Linked DNA regions of Homo sapiens: all the other regions are linked to region 3. The links are contacts of gene promoters, found by promoter capture Hi-C in blood cells and fetal thymus (Javierre and others, 2016). All regions are on one chromosome and are shown on one strand. Each heading gives the region's core, a stretch centred on a gene start or on the middle of the fragment in contact. The rest is flanking DNA. Distances are from core to core; before and after follow the strand shown. Region 1 overlaps LOC105373417 (a long non-coding RNA gene). Region 2 overlaps ASAP2 (ArfGAP with SH3 domain, ankyrin repeat and PH domain 2). Region 3 holds the start of ASAP2 (ArfGAP with SH3 domain, ankyrin repeat and PH domain 2).

What was found. Contacts are between HindIII fragments. The CHiCAGO score rates a contact against its expected background, and 5 or more counts as called.
Region 1: a contact is called between a fragment that was not itself captured here and the fragment with the promoter of ASAP2 in region 3, in 2 of 17 cell types (megakaryocytes and endothelial precursors). The highest score is 9.9, in megakaryocytes.
Region 2: a fragment that was not itself captured here is called in contact with the fragment with the promoter of ASAP2 in region 3 in 1 of 17 cell types (endothelial precursors); the score reaches 5.1 in endothelial precursors.

What each region holds. Positions count from the first base shown.
Region 1 is chr2:9,140,940-9,144,327 of GRCh38, reverse strand. All of the region lies in intron 1 of LOC105373417 (a long non-coding RNA gene), which reads left to right. Among named protein-coding and RNA genes, the nearest start is that of ASAP2, 64 kb to the left of the region's middle. RefSeq lists enhancers at 1,213-1,292, 1,409-2,306. The HindIII fragment of the contact is 981 bases long and covers 995-1,975 here.
Region 2 is chr2:9,239,835-9,243,229 of GRCh38, reverse strand. The region is part of intron 1 of ASAP2 (ArfGAP with SH3 domain, ankyrin repeat and PH domain 2); the gene reads right to left. Among named protein-coding and RNA genes, the nearest start is that of ASAP2, 35 kb to the right of the region's middle. The HindIII fragment of the contact is 4,856 bases long and covers 1-3,395 here.
Region 3 is chr2:9,205,187-9,208,435 of GRCh38, reverse strand. It overlaps ASAP2 (ArfGAP with SH3 domain, ankyrin repeat and PH domain 2), which reads right to left and starts at 1,624. Exons shown (of 28, transcript NM_003887.3): 1 at 1,206-1,624. The coding sequence starts at 1,331. RefSeq lists enhancers at 612-1,542, 1,543-2,475 and silencers at 1,905-2,088, 1,835-2,094. The HindIII fragment of the contact is 2,916 bases long and covers 420-3,249 here.

The DNA.
Region 1 (3,388 bases), core at 236-2,735, 64 kb after region 3:
TAAACTTTCCAGATTGATTGGGTGTCTCAGACACTTTTAGGTTCACAGTGTGTGGTGTGTGTGTGTGGTGTGTGTGGTGTGTGTGTGGGGGGTGTGTGTGTGTGTGTGTGGTGTGTGTGTGATGTGTGTGGTGTGTGTGTGTGGTGTTATGCAATTTATCATGTGATTTGTGTAATCATTGTTATTTACTGGTCTATATGTTCAGTAATGGTGTCTTAGGAACATCTTTGCTTTTTGTTTTGTTTTGTTTTTTGAGATGGAGTCTTGCTCTGTGGCCCAGGCTGGAGTGCAGTGGTACAATCTTGGCTCACTGTAACCTCCGCCTCCCGGGTTCAAGCGATTCTCCTGCCTCAGCCTCCCAAGTAGCTGGGATTACAGGTGTGCGCCACTATGCCCGGCTAATTTTTTGTATTTTTAGTACAGATGGGGTTTCACCATGTTGGCCAGGCTGGTCTTGAACTCCTGACCTCAGGTGATCCATCCACCCGCCTCAGACTCCCAAAGTGCTGGGATTACAGGCGTGAGCTACTGCACCCGGCCTTAGGGGCATCCTTGATAGAGGCTTAAGGCCATGGACTTGAATGAGATTTCCCAGGAGAAGGTGCAGACAGAAAAGGAGGCGGCTTGGGTGGAATGCCAGACAGAAGAGGGACTTTGCTCTGGCCCCCGGAAGAAGCTTCGTGGAGGAGAAGGGTCTATGAGGGGAGGAGACCCCAGAATCCCCTACAAGGGAGGCATCTGGGGCCTGCCCAGCCCTGCTCTTGGGACCCTCTGACCTGGGCTTTCCAGACAGGTCCGTTTTCAAACCCTCTGCTCATGGCTCCCGTACGCCATCAGCCCCAGAATGCCAGCATTTAGGTGCCTAAGCTACACTTCCTAGAAAGCCGTTTGCCTCTGGAATGCTTTGCTAGGTCATGTGTACTGAATTTGGGCTGGAAAAATGTAGCTATATTTGTAAAATATGTCAGTAAGATTGAACACCTGTAGCCAAGCTTGCAGGAGGGACCCCGAAGTCACTGCTGCCAGGCTGGACACGGGGGGCCTTTTGCACCCCCAGCACAGGGCCTGGCACACAAGCCACACTCCGTTGTGAAGCTCGGTTGTTTGTGGTCAAATTCTACACTTTTGGCATCTTTTTTTCAACGAGCGGGAGCACAGCTGTGCGGCGTCTCCTAAAAGCCTTGGCGAGTTAACTCCTACGGAAGTAGGGAAAACGCTTTTCCCCAAGGGGGAGAGAGGTGCACTATTTCTGGAGTAAAAATTTCATGCTCTGTATATTTTTGTTCAGACGTTTGAGCATGAGTTCCTCCGTCTGCGAACTCTGAGTTTGAGGATTCTGAGTCACAGCCCCAGACACGCGCCCGGTGGAAAACGCCCCAGTCCCTCGCGGGGCAGAGGCGGCGCCGGGAACGGTGCGGCAGCACCCCCTGGTGGCGAATGTCGATGCTGCGCCCCGAGGAAGGAAGGCCGGGGAAGCCCTCCTTAGGAGAGGCCCTGCTTGTTACCCCACCCTCCAAAGGCACGCGGCTTACCAGCCTCAGAGGCTCCCAGCTCCACCCTCTCAGCCAGTCTGGAGAGAGCCTGGTGTGACGGAAGGCGGTGTGGACCTAGGAGATAGGGACCGACACTTAGGGTTCCCTGCTGTTTGCGCATCAGGGAATGTGCTGATGAGGACTCAGAGGTGAATGAACCCTAACCCTAGGCCCGGCGCGGTGGCTCACGCCTGTAATCCCGGCACTTTGGGAGACTGAGGTGGGCGGATCACCTGAGGTCAGGAGTTCAAGATCAGCCTAGCCAACATGGTGAAACCCCTTCTGTACTAAAAATAAAAAGAATTAGCCGGGCATGGTGGCGCACGCTTGTAATCCCAGCAACTCGGGAGGCTGAGGTAGGAGAATTGCTTGAAGCCGGGAGGCAAAGGTTGCAGTGAGTCGAGATCGCGCCATTGCATTTCAGCCTGGGCAAGAGCGAAGCTTCGTCTCAAAAAAAAAAAAAAAAAAAAAGAGATGAATGCGATGAATGCACACCCTGGGCTCCGACATCTGCAGGCTCACGTGCTGAGGGGAAGGCAGACCAAGACCATAAGGACCAGAGCTAGAGATTCGGGGCTCAGTAGCGTGGGGTTCTGGCTTTGTCCCCTATCAGCTGTGGGACTGAGGGCAAGCTGCTTAAGCCCTCAGAGACTCAGCTTTTTCATATGTAAACAGGGAAACAGGGCTAATAATTAGTACTTGGCGTAACTATTGTTAAGATACAGTATGTGAAATGAGAGGTACATAATAGATTCACTAAATGGAAGGTAATTATACTTCTTATTCATGTCATAACAACTGATCTGGCAAAGAAGCGAGTACTGGGAGATGAGGGCATGGTTAGGAAAGTCTTCATCAATGGGGAGACATTTCAGCTGGGTTTTGAAGGATGACTAGGAGTTTTCCAATCAAAGGGGGAAGGGCCTCTAGATGGGGGAACTGTGTGTACAAAGGCATAGTGGTAAGAAGTGCTATAGTGCATTTGGAGAGCTGTAAATAGTTCGGTAAATAGTTCAGCAGGTGTAGCTGAAACTGGCCAGGTGAATTTGATCAGAATCTCTGAGAGCAGGTTACAGGAATCTGTGTTTGATAAGAAGTTTCCCAGGAGATTCTGAGGCTGACTTCCCACAGGCCTAAAGTCTGGAAACCCATTGCTGTACCTGACATTCTGCACAATTCTCTCTAATCTGAACCACAACCCAGCAAGATAGAGGTTATTTGTCCTTATTTTACACAGCAGAAAGCCAAGACTCAGAGAGGTAAAGCGACTTGCCCAGGATCACACAGCTAAGGTAAGCCAAGATTCAATCCCTGGTCAGGTTGACTTCAAACCCCATCCACACAGTGAGTGCCCAGTAAAAGCCAGCGATGACCCTCCCTGCCGACGCTCTACAGGCTGGACCCCCAGGTGTGTTGATCCTGTTTCCCTGACTCCATCCTGTTAGGAGTCTGAGGGAAGAGGGGGTTGGGGCCAGGGAAGCACCTCCTGTGGGCCAGATTTCAATGCCACGTAGAGAAGTTTCCCTGGTTAGAATTGCTCATTGGAGGAGGAGAGTCCTGCTCTTCTCAGGAATTTGCCAGAGATAGTTTTGTGGGCGTGTGTGTGTAATTTTTAAAAAATCTAAAATAATCTCTGACTTAAGAAGAGCTTCCACTGCAGCACAAATCATGCATTTTTTCCTGAACCATTTGGGGGTAAATTGTCAACACTTGCTCCCTAATACTCCACCTCCAATACTCCATCACCCCAAATACTCCCATGTACTTCCTGCAAATATGGACTTTCTCCTACATGGTCGGTCAGAACAACCTTCACTCACAACTCAAGTTCGCAGGGCGCGTTGCTGCTGTTCAAG
Region 2 (3,395 bases), core at 750-3,249, 34 kb before region 3:
GGCTGAGGCAGGAGAATGGCGTGAACCCGGGAGGCGGAGCTTGCAGTGAGCTGAGGTTGTGCCACTGCACTCCAGCCTGGGCGACAGAGCAAGACTCCGTCTCAAAAAAACAAAACAAAACAAAACAAAAAATCTTCAAGGCTCACTAGGGCAAAACATTCCTGTTCTTGGAAAGTGAAGTACACATCTTTGTTAATCCGTATGCTTCTTCTCCCGATAATACTTAAAGCCATCATGCAGGGTAGGCCAAAATAAAGAAAGCACACAACGCTGCTTATGCCTCTTTTTTTGAGCAAAAATTTGTTGTTACTGGGCCTCAGTTATATCAAAGCAGGAGCTAATGTGCACCAATGTCTTACACCCAATGGTCTGAACACGTGTAATAGTCTCACCTGACAATCATCGGACAATCAAAACCTACTTCCCCAGCATCATGCTTCCCCAGACGGCAATTTTCCTCCATAAAGGAGGTGAGAAAAGAAAGAAAAGTTGGAACAGTAAAGGAAACAGAAAAAATGGGATAAAATGATGATCAGCTGAGGATTCTCTCCTTGAATCCATCCTGAGGAAGCAAAGGCCTCTGGACTGCGTTCCTTTGAAAGGTGATCCCGCGACCAGCTATCAGCCCCAGCAGTTTCAGGATGAAGACTCAGGGAACAGAGCCCACACACCGCCCAATACAAGATGTCAACTTCAAGCCAGGCTGAGGGCACCGCAAGTGCCCATCCCTGTCAAGCTAGACACAGCAGCTAGAGTATGGTACTGGGTCTATCACAGTTTGTAGCATCCAATTCCTCTAGGTGTGACCCTACCAGAAGAAAAGGCTTCTAGAAGCAGATCACTAGAGGTTACAGTGAAACCTTAGTGCACTTATTCAACAAACATTTACCAAGCACCACCAGTGTGCTGGCACAAGGCTAGGTGATGGAAGAGCTCCTGACAGTGTCAGCAAGGAACTGAATCTGCACTTCCCATGGACCAGGTCAGATCTCTATCTGTAAACCGCCAAAGCATGCGCCCCTAAGATCACGGTCCAAAGAATGCCTACCATCACTGTCTGGCCAAATAAAAAAAAAGTTTCATTCCAGCACAGAGCACAGACCTCCCCCCTCTCTTCCAAGATAGCAAACACAACGAACGCCTGTGAGGTACATGTTATGCCTTCTCCTCCTTGCTTCACATGAGGAAACTAGTGCTCGAAGAAGCTAACCAACTTGCCCAGAAGTACAGTTACCAAGTAGTAAAACCAGGTGTGAAATTCACATGTGTCCGCCTGATAACAAAGTTCTTAATCTGTCTAACATGCTCCCCTAAACTTATTGGGACCCTAACATGTGCAACCATGTAATCCTCCACCTGCCAGGTCCTGAGTTCTCTTCTCACTTATTAGATTCAACCTTTCAGGTCCAGATCAAAATGCCATCCCTTTCCTTCTCCTCGCTTTCCTTGACTTAGCACAGTGTCTGGCATATACTCACTAATGTTGGAGGAGTTGAAAATATACATATCCACAATAGGAAAATTACAGTACATATCTTTGGTGAGGCATGAACATTTACTTAAAGCAATTAGTTTTTTGTTGTTGTTTGAGCCTGGTTTGAGACTCCAGGCTGGAGTGCAGTGGTGCGATCACGGCGCCACCATGCCTGGGTAAAAGATGGGGTTTCGCCATGTTTCCCAGGCTGGTCTCGAACTCCTGGGCTCAAGTGATCCTCCTGCTTCTTTGGCCTCCCAGTGTGCTGGGATTATAGGCATGAGCCACCACACCCAGCCAGTTTGATTTTCATGTATGTATGTACATCCCCAACCCTGATATGGATAAGGAACTCATAATCGCACCAGTTTAGCATGCAAAGTGGTAATAGGACAATGACTTCCCAGAAAACCTCTCACCAAAAACTATCAGGAAAACAAAGAATTAATGTTCTACATGCACAACAGTTCAACCAAAATTCTGCAGCATTACTTAATACTGACAAAATATCTTCCAGCACACATGCTAAATTAAGAAAGATTGTATCCTAAAAGATAAATATGTGAGCTAATAATATTTCATCTTAGAATGTGTTTTTGGACTCATCCAGATACAGTACTACCCTCTTATCCACAGTTTCATTTTCCACAGTTTCCACTAACCACAGTCCAAAAATATTCCACAGAAAAGTCCAGAAATAAGCAATTCATAACTTTTAAATTGCTTGCTGTTCTATGTCAAGAGATGAAATCTCACACCGTCCTGCCTCCCACGCGGGACGTGACTCCTCCCTTTGTCTGGCAGAACCACAAGGTCCATGCTACCTGCCCATGAGTCACCTAGTAGCTGCCTAGGTTATGAGATGATTGTCCCAGTATTGCAGAGCCTGTGTTCAAGTAACCCTTATTTTTTACATAATAATGGTCCCAGAGCACAAGAACCCTAGATGCTGGTAATGCAGATATGCCAAGGAGAAATCATACAGCACTTCCTTTAAGTAAAAAGATGAAACTCCTTGACTTAAGGAAAAATTCCTATGCTGAGGTTGCTAAGATCTAAGGGAAAAGTGGGTCTTCTATTCATGAAATGGTAAAGAAGAAAAAAATAAACTCATGCTAGCTTTGCCTTCACATCTCAAACTGCAAAAGCTACGGCCGTGGTGCGTGGCAAGTGCTTAGTTATGATGGAAAAATCATTAACTTTTGGGAGGGGCTGGGCACGGTGGCTCACACCTGAAACCTCAGCACTCTGGGAGGCCAAGGCAGGTGAATCGCTCCAGTCCAGGAGTTTGAGACCAGCCTGGGAAACATGGAGAAACCCCATCTCTACAAAAAATTAGCTTGGCATGGTGGTGCATGCCTGTGATCCCAGCTACCGGGGAGGTGGATGTGGGAGGATCACCTGGGCCCAGGAAATGGTGGCTGCAGTGAGCCGTGATGGCGCCACTGCACTCCAGCCTGGGTGACAGAGTGAGACCCTGTCTCAAATAAAAAAAAAAAAAAAAAAAAAATTATGGGAGGAAGACATGACATGAACAGAGACATGTCGTGATTGAAGGCAAACTAGTTCAATATTAGCTGGCTGCAGGCATCCACCGAGGGTCTTGGAACATACCCCCCAGGGATAATGGGGCTTCAGTATTTAGATAAGTCTGTGAAGATCAACTGTGAAAATCTTATCTACATTGCTCTAAGAAGTTGACTAGTTTTTTCACCCTGACTTAATTTCTTTCCATAAACCACCCCAAAAGTAGCAGGACAGGGAAAAGAATTCAACTTAGAAACAGAAGACCTCCTTCTTACCAGCTACAAGGCCTTGGGAAAGTCACTTAAACATGACAAAAACTCATCTCTACAAAAAAATTACTGGGGCATGGTGGTGTGCACCTGGAGTCCAAGCTACTCAAGAGGCTGAGGTGGGT
Region 3 (3,249 bases), core at 375-2,874:
TCAAATGGGAAAAAAAAAAAAAAACCAGAAAAAAAAAATAACGCCATTGCTTCATTTAAAGCTCTTTGGTGACACCCACCCCCCCACCCACACACACACTCCTGCTAGCCCAGGCGTCTTCTGCTAAAACACCTGCAATACCCAATTTTAAAACTGTAACCTGACATCCTGGCCCAGAGACATTTAATCACAGATTCACTATTGCCACACGTGTGACTTGTAAACCTATTCTGAGCCGAGCAGAGTGCTAAGCACTTCACACAGTCTCTGATCCTGGAAAGGATGCATTACTAATCCCGTTTGATGGGTAAGGAAAAGGAGGACTGCAGGTGAGGATGTGCCTCAAACCACAGCCAACGGTGGCCCCTGGACTCACAGACTCTGCCCCTTTCCCCACGGCTTTAATTTTCAACCAAGCTTCTTCGTTCCTACGTGTTCCTCTCCCCAGGACCTGGAGAGCGTACTGCTTAGCAGCTAGGCGTGATGACTTTGCACCTTGAGAGCACTTTACTAAAACCAGGCCTTTTCCAGGTTGAGGGGGAAGGGCGGCATTCCGGGTTCAAGCAGGTGAGACCCAGGTAACCGGGGAGCGGCTCCTGGAGGCTTCTTGGACCCAGAAGCGCCGACTCTCACACACCTTGCCCGCAGTTCCTTCTCCGGGCACGGGTGGAGCGCAGCCAGGCCGCCCTGGCTGAGGCGGGCACGCCTTCCCGGGCAGCCCGGGATGCCCCGGACCCGCGGACCCGAGGGTGGGGGCCCTGCGGCGCTCGGGGGCTGCGGCGGGGAGCTCGGAGCGCGGAGCTGCCCCCGCCGGTCCACTTCAAGAACAAGTTGATAAGGTCCGCACCGGGTACCAAAGACCCCGGGCGGCGGCGGGCGGCGGCGGGCAGCGGGATCCCCCGCTCGCCGCGGACCCCGACTCTGGACAAAGTTGGCCGCGCTGCGGGGAAAAGACCAGGCCGCGGAACCCCGCGAGGGCCACGAGGCCGAGAGAGGGGAGGTCTTAAAGAGGCCCAAGGTGGCCATCACCCATCTCCTCCGAGCCACCTAGGCGGGAACAAAGGGCTTCTGTCTCGGGCAGGGTTGGCCCGGCCGCGTCCGGCTTCGGAGCAAAGAAAGTTTTCTCGGGATGCGGATGCGGGAGCGGCGGGCGGGGCTGGGGCGCGGGATACCTGCGGCCGGAGCCGCCGCGCAGGCCGCCTCACCTCCTCGATGGCCGCCACAGTGTTCCGGCACTGCGCCGTGCGGGTGGTGAAGCTGGAGGCCGTGGGCGCCTTGTAGTCCTCATGGGTCTCGGCCACGAATTCCGACACGGAGATCTGGTCCGGCATCGCCTCGGCGCGAGGGCGCTGGCGCACAGCCGCAGGGGCGCCGCCGCCTCAACTGCCGCAGCAGGCTCCGACCGCCGCTCGGACACCGCCGCTGCCGCCGCCGCTCCGGCCCGCGGACAAAGGGGAGCGCCGGGCGCGGGAGCCGCGCGGGGCCTGGCGGCGGAGCAGGGGCGGCGCGCAGCCCCGCGCAGCTCGGCCGGTCCGCCCGCCTGCGCGCCGAGGGCTCCGAGTCCGCTGCCGCCGCGTCCTCTCAGAGCGAGCCCCGAGGCGGGCGCGCACAGCCGGCGGGAACTACCCGCCACCCAGCCGCGGGCCCCGACGCCTCCCGCGGAGAGGGGCGGGTCCGGGCCGGGGGCGGCGGCCGGCCGGGCGTGGGGCGGGGCGGCGGGAGGACCGGGCCGCCAATCGGCGCGCTCGCCGCTGCCGCGCCGCCGGGAAGCGGATCCCGCAGGAAGGAAGGCGGCGCGCGCCCCGGCCCGCCGAGCCGTTCCTGGCCGCCGCGCGCCGCATTGTCTCGGCGTTCCGGGCCCCGCGCGCCGCGCCCATGCCCCGCCCCCAGCCGGCCCGAGGCCCCGACTCCGACCCGCTGCCCGCGAGGGTGCGTGTGGAGGTGCGCCCCGCCGGAGTCCGGCCTTGTGCGCGCCAACCGCCCCCCGCCCACGGCGCGGAGCACCTCTGGGCTCCCCACTTGAACGGCGGGCCGCGCCGGCCCATGAGGAAAGCGGGGTGCGGAGCTCGCCCCCTGCCGGAGGATGCGCTCCGCCGGCGGGCACCCTGCGGGGACCACAGCCGGACGCCAGAAGTGACCTGACCGTGAATGTGCGCTTTGCGTGCAGTCATTGCATCGTCGCAGGCCTAGGAGACAGATGAAGAGATGGGTGCTTATTTTATATAGGGGACACAGTGTGCCCAAGAGCACAAGATAAACGGCCGGGTGGGGATTCAAACCCATGTTCCCTGACTCAAGTGTGAGTGCTTCAGAGCGGTGAGGGGCCCCTACTAAAAGTCCCAGTCGCGTTTCCTAGGCTGCCCAATGATAGGTATTCTCGGTTATAGTTTTAGGGTACTAGGCCAGGACCCACCCTGGGAAGGCTGCTGAACGCCCTGAAGTGGTATTCCCGCAGGCAGAGGAGGGAACCGAGGGGGTGCAGGAGGAGGAGGAGGGGGAGAACGTGCTACAGCAGCCAGCCAACCTCACACAAAACCGGGCCAGTAAAGGGTTCGAACTGGTACCGATTTTTATTTACAGCTCTTAAGGAAATTCTCGGTTATACTGAAAAATCCAGAAGCTCTGAAGATACCAGTCAAATAAAATCACACCCTATAACTCTACACCAGACTTGTGGCATGGTTTCTGTAGCTGCCAGCGGTAAAACCAAGAGAAACTTTACAAAAACCTTTTGTGCATCTGAAAAGGAGGAAGTGTGAGAGACACTGGAAATTCAATATGTCAGACAAAGCCGTCTCCTGACACTGCAGGACAGTAGACCAGTCAAACAATCTTTTTAAAGCCCCCATGTAAGAAGTTGCTATATGAGGTGGCAGCTTGGGTCAGACATTATGTATGGCCTTTGGTATTTTAGTAGCACTGCATGTAAAATTTAACTTTCTAAAATCGCTGTATTCGTGGATAGCTTTTATCATTGCACTAGACAACAAGTTACAATTTAAAAATTGTATCTGTTTCTTTTTATGTTTTTTGATCCTTTTGGTGTCTGAAGTTTTCCTCTATTTGCAACCTTCTACAATTCATGTTTTGTGTTTATTATTTATATTAATACATCCTCTCCAACACCAGGCAGATTCTGTTCCCGCCTACCTAGTTTCCCAGCTACAGTTTTTGACATGAGGGAATATGCTGAATAACTTTTCAAGTCTTGATTTGTAGAGGGCTGGTCTCTATGAGGCTATGAGGGAT